Linked DNA regions of Homo sapiens: region 1 is linked to region 2. Evidence: promoter capture Hi-C in 16 types of primary human blood cells and fetal thymus (Javierre and others, 2016). All regions are on one chromosome and are shown on one strand. The core of a region is centred on a gene start or on the middle of the fragment in contact, and the rest is flanking DNA. Distances in the headings are between cores, read along the strand shown.

The links. Contacts are between HindIII fragments. The CHiCAGO score rates a contact against its expected background, and 5 or more counts as called.
Region 1: a contact is called between a fragment that was not itself captured here and the fragment with the promoter of PC in region 2, in 1 of 17 cell types (endothelial precursors). The highest score is 5.2, in endothelial precursors.

The regions. Positions count from the first base shown.
Region 1 is chr11:66,708,672-66,711,371 of GRCh38, reverse strand. SPTBN2 (spectrin beta, non-erythrocytic 2) reads left to right here. Exons shown (of 38, transcript NM_006946.4): 9 at 343-455; 10 at 603-790; 11 at 2,353-2,470. Among named protein-coding and RNA genes, the nearest start is that of SPTBN2, 19 kb to the left of the region's middle. The HindIII fragment of the contact is 2,305 bases long and covers 102-2,406 here.
Region 2 is chr11:66,957,097-66,959,796 of GRCh38, reverse strand. It overlaps PC (pyruvate carboxylase), which reads left to right and starts at 1,414. Exons shown (of 23, transcript NM_001040716.2): 1 at 1,414-1,475. RefSeq lists silencers at 977-1,336, 1,657-1,756 and enhancers at 1,407-1,456, 2,620-2,700. The HindIII fragment of the contact is 4,821 bases long and covers 654-2,700 here.

The DNA of each region.
Region 1 (2,700 bases), core at 5-2,504, 250 kb after region 2:
AAGTCCATGATCCATCCCCACATAGCAATGCTGTTTCTTTTCTTGCTTTTCTTCCCCAAACAACTGATTTTGGTCTCCACGGGGAACTCTGGGTAAAAGCTTCCTTGTGCTTCTGGGGTTTGTGCTCTGCTTGGAGGGCCCTTCTTGTTTCCAGGAGAAGGGGAAAAAAAGATGAGCTTTTTGGTGCCCTTTTCATTTGAATGGGTAAGTTGTCATTTTGCTCTAAAAGGAGATGGAGAGATGTCAGCCTTGGAGGACTGGGCAGGCCCAGGGTTTGGGGTAAGTGATGCAAGTTATGGATGAACTTCTGGGAGGCCTGACCCAAATGGTCCTCTCTTGCAGACGTGAATGTGGACCAGCCAGATGAGAAGTCAATCATTACCTATGTGGCTACTTACTACCATTACTTCTCCAAGATGAAGGCCCTGGCCGTGGAAGGCAAGAGAATTGGCAAGGTACTGTCCATGGGCAGTAGGCATAAAGGCCAGAGGAGGCCCGGCTGAGGGGTCTTACTGCCCTAGTGCAAGGGCAGGGTGGAGCTGCAGGACTGGGCCAGGGACCCTGTGGCTGGGACTGTCACGTCCCTGTCTTCTGCCTCCCAGGTGCTGGACCATGCCATGGAGGCAGAGCGCCTGGTGGAGAAATACGAGTCCCTGGCCTCGGAGCTGCTGCAGTGGATCGAGCAAACGATCGTGACCCTCAATGACCGGCAGTTGGCCAACTCCCTTAGCGGGGTCCAGAACCAGCTGCAGTCCTTCAACTCCTACCGCACCGTGGAGAAGCCGCCCAAGTAGGTGTCCCTGGGGCCCCACCCTTCCCTGAGCTGTGCTCCCACGAGAGGAAGCCTAAATTAGCACAGCCTTCAGGGAGGGAAATTTGGCAGTACATAAATGCAGTGGAGATTTCCCACACCAGAAGCATCCAAACAACATAGTTGATACAAAATAAAATTTTTTAATGATTAGTCGTTTTTAAAAATCATGCTGTGGGCCGGGCATGGTGGCTCACGCCTGTAATCCCAGCACTTTGGGAGGCCAAGGCGGGCGCATCACCGAGACCAGTCTGGCCAACATGGTGAAACCCCATCTCTACTGAGGTCGGGAGTTTGAGACCAGCCTGGCCAACATGGTGAAACCCCGTCTCCACTAAAATTACAAAAAAATTAGCTGGGCATGGTGGCACACGCCTGTCATCCCAGCTACTCGGGAGGCTGAGGCAGGAGAACCACCTGAACCCGGGAGACAGAGGTTGCAGTGAGCCAAGATCACGCCACTGCACTCCAACCTGGGTGACAGAGCAAGACTCCGTCTCAAAAAACAAACAAACATGCTGTGGAAATGATTGCTATGATGTGTTGAGTCAGTGCGATCCATCAGATAAGATTACTGATCAGGTGTCATGGCAACCCAATCCTAGCATAGGATAGAGGGGACTGGACCTGACAGGCAGGTCACAACCGGCAACATGGGTGTGGCTGGTAACGTGAGAATTGCAGAGGTTCTTATCATTTCAGTATTTTAGCAATTAACTGTTCCAAGTATGTGATTGCTGTTAGGCAATTCTGTTCAGTACCTGCCAAAACGTCTGTGTTTATGCTGTCATGGAGTTCTTTTGGAGTTAATATATATCAGCTCTGAAACTAATATTAGTCCAGAAAACAATTGTTTCTATACATTCCAGGGAATGATTTAAGGTGTACCCTTTAACCTAGGAAGTTGTCTTCTGGACATTAAACAAAGATGTAGCTTCAAGGATGTTTATCAACACAACCACTAGAAAAGAAAAATAAGTCATGGGCAGCCACTGAAAATAATATTAAAGAAATGCATTTATTGACATGGAAAGGTGTTCATGAAAAATAAGTGGGGGAAATAGGTTATAAAAGAATTATTTTGGCTGGGCACCGTGGCTCATGCCTGTAATCCCAGCACTTTGGGAGACTGAGGCGGGTGGATCACTTGAGGTCAGGAGTTTGAGACCAGCCTGGCCAGCATGGTGAAACCCCATCTCTACTAAAAATACATAAATTAGCCAGGTGTGGTGGTGCATGCCTGTAATCCCAGCTACTCGGGAGGCTGAGGCAAGAGATTGGCTTGAACCCGGGAGGCAGAGGTTGCAGCGAACCCAGATCGCACCACTGCACTCCAGCCTGGGTGACAAAGCAAGACTCTGTCTCAAAATAAAATAAAATGATGTTCTTTTGGTTAGCCCATATTTTCTGGCTTCCACATAAAAAGTTTATATTGCTTTTGTAAGAAGAAAAGCAACACAGGACACCCATTTGGAAGAGTAAAGAGTCCTTGTGACCCTCGTGGGCTTTAATTCTGACCCCAACCCGGCCTCCTGCCTCAGGTTTACCGAGAAAGGGAACTTGGAAGTGCTGCTCTTCACCATCCAGAGCAAGCTTCGGGCCAACAACCAGAAGGTCTACACGCCCCGCGAGGGCCGGCTCATCTCGGACATCAACAAGGTCCGTGGCTGCCCACAGGCCACCCACCCTCAGGGCAGGCCCTGGCCCAGATGCCTTGCACACATCCCCAAACCCGGGGCCATGTCGACCTTCACCAAGTTCTACTATCTGCTGCCCCAACTTGAAACTCGAGCACTCTGCCCAGCTGCCCACACTGTGCCAGATGTGATTCTCCCATCCTCTCAGGCACACGGCTCCCTGTCCCTTTGTCTGACTCTCCATACGAGGTC
Region 2 (2,700 bases), core at 165-2,664:
CCCCCCCAGCGCCCCAATTCATGCGAAAGTGAAGATTAAGCCTTGAAGCTGAGTCACTGCAACACCCTCTTCCAAAAGAATAGCTGTTACTAGCATTAGGCATCAGCCATATCCACACGGAAAGGTAAAAACCTCAGGCATTTGGGAAGGGCTGCCCCCACAGATCATTCACAAGTAAATTCTTGCTGGCCTCCCATAAACAAGGACAGGTCAATTGTAGCTTCAGGTCTACAATCTAAGTCTAGCTCCTAAAAATTCCACAATAAGAATGTCATTACAAGCTTATTTTCCCAGGTGCAGAACAAAGTCAAAACTACCTACTCAGAGACATCTGCATAACTGACTCTTCCTTTACTCTCTTTTTCTCTTCAGACATTCATCTCATCTTACGTAGATTTACCGGGCATTAGCTAAAGTCCCATAGGAATGTAACTATTGTCCTAATCGCCTACTTGCCCTTCTTCCTACATGCCTTCCCCTCATTCCCCCTTTAAGGAAATGCATAAATACTAAACCTCCCGAAAACCTCTTCGGAAAAACAACCACGGATGTGTCTGTGGTTCGTGTTTTTCCCGAGCACGCCCTCAAACTGGATTAATAAGCCTCGATGACAGAGACTTATGCCTCAGTCACTTGTTCCACTTGTCAAAGCTTTCCTCTTTGACAAGTGTCTTGGGTCTTGTCAAGTGTCTTGTGTCTCAAACAAGGCTTCCAAACCCCCTAGGTCCTGAGTAGCTTCGCTCTGCAGATGACAAAACCGAGACTCAGAGGTTAAGTTGCTTGCCCAAGGTCACACAGACGTACTGTAGACCCCCATCATCATCTACGCAGCTGTTAAAGGACATAGTCATGTAACCCGTGTGGCACAAGCGCCTTCTCCTTCCTCCTGCCCTTCGCTAACGTTAGCTTTTCCTGCGACCTCTTCTCCGCTAGCCAGCGCGTATCTGCGTCTAGCCGGGATGCCTGAGCCCCAGTGCGAACTGTTGTGCTTGCAGCTTCGGGAGACACGTGCTACTCGGGTGAATGAATCGAACGTCCCCACCCCCGCCGACAGCCAATAACTGCGAGCCACAGCCCGGCCACTTCCGCCTATTGCGGGCGTCGGCTAGGGTCCGGCGGCCCACGTGAGGCTCCGGAGACAAGGGAGTAGGCGGTGGTGCGCCAGGGGCGGGCTCTCCCAGCCTCGCCACTTATCCAGGCGCTCGCCGGGGACGGGAGGGGCGGGGCTGACGTGGGGCGCCAAGGCTTAAACGTGACGGACAGGCGGGCACAGGGAGGAGTCCAGAGCCTAGGGGCGAGGAGTGACGGAGAACACTGCCCAATAACGGGAGGGGTTGGGCTGTCTGGGCCAATAGGAAGTCCGTAAGGCGGGGCCGGGACTGCAGCAAGTTCGGTTGCACGGAGACCGCAGCTGTTCTCTGTCAGTGGAGGCAGCAGCGGTAGAGGCGGCGGCGAGGACTGGCGACGGCGAGGAGGTGAGTGTCCGCCGCGCTCCGCACGGTCCTCTTCCCGCGGCGGGTCGGAGCGGGTGGACGTGCGCCGGCACCGCTGCGAGGGACGCTTATGTAAGGGTCGCGCGCGCAAAGGCGGCGCGGGCTCCGCGAGTGACGGCTGGAGGAGACAGCGACGGGCTGTGCGCGGTGCGCGACGCGACGCAGCGGACGGCGCCCCTCCCCCTCGCGCGGGGGCTCGGCCGGCTGGACCCGCCCCCGGACCCGCCCCCGGCTGCAGCCCCCGAGCGCCCCTCCGCAGCGTCCGCCTGCGGGCTGCCTCATTCTTGCTCTCGGGCCCATTTTGCAGATGGAGAAACTGACTAAAGCGCCTCGCGCGAGGTCCCTGAGGGTTCGAACCCAAGTCTGTCAGGATCGGGAGCCCAAGTTGTCCCCATCGTACTGGATGTGGCTCAGCTCTGCAGGAAGCCGCGGCGTGTAAGGCGAGGGCTTTCCTTGTTCCTTGCTCTCGCACTCCGCCTCCCGTAGGATCCTCTACTTTGTTTCAGACGGGGAAGCTCCAGGCGCCCAGACGCAGTGATTCGCCCAAGGCCGCTCATTCAGGAGGTGGGGCTGGGCTCAGCCCCTTATTTCTCCAGCTTTTAGTAGTTTACAAAGCGCATCAGAGTCGGAAGCCAAGTCCCTAGGTCCCTGGCAACTTTGAGATTCTTTTGTTTTCTTTTCTTTTTTAGACAGGGTCTTGCTGTCACCCACCCAGGCTGGAGTGCAGTGGCGCGATCTCGGCTCACTGCAGTCTCGACCTCCCGGGCTCAAGCGACCCTCCTGCCACAGTCCCCCAGTGCTGGGACTACAGGCGGGCGCCACCACGCCTAGCTAATTTTTGTATTTTTTGGTAGAGACGAGGTTCCGTCATGTTGCCCAGGCTGGTCTCGAACTCCTACGCTCAAGCGAGCGGCCTGCCCTGGCTTCCCAAAGTGCTGAGATTACAGGCGTGCCTCGTCTGAAATTCTAAAAAATCAGATTGTGTCTTTATTTTGTGAGAAGAGGTAGGCCTGGGCTCCTTACCCGTTCTCCAGCTGAGAAAACAGGCTCAGAGAAGTACCAACACTTGCTGATGACAACCAGAACCTCCAGAGTGCCTGCCATCTGCCTCCCTATTGCTCCCGTACCCACTGCCACCATCAGCCCTGGCTGGCCTCCCCCAAGGCACCCTTTCCCTGTATGTGATGCAAACACTTGTGCTGGGGGT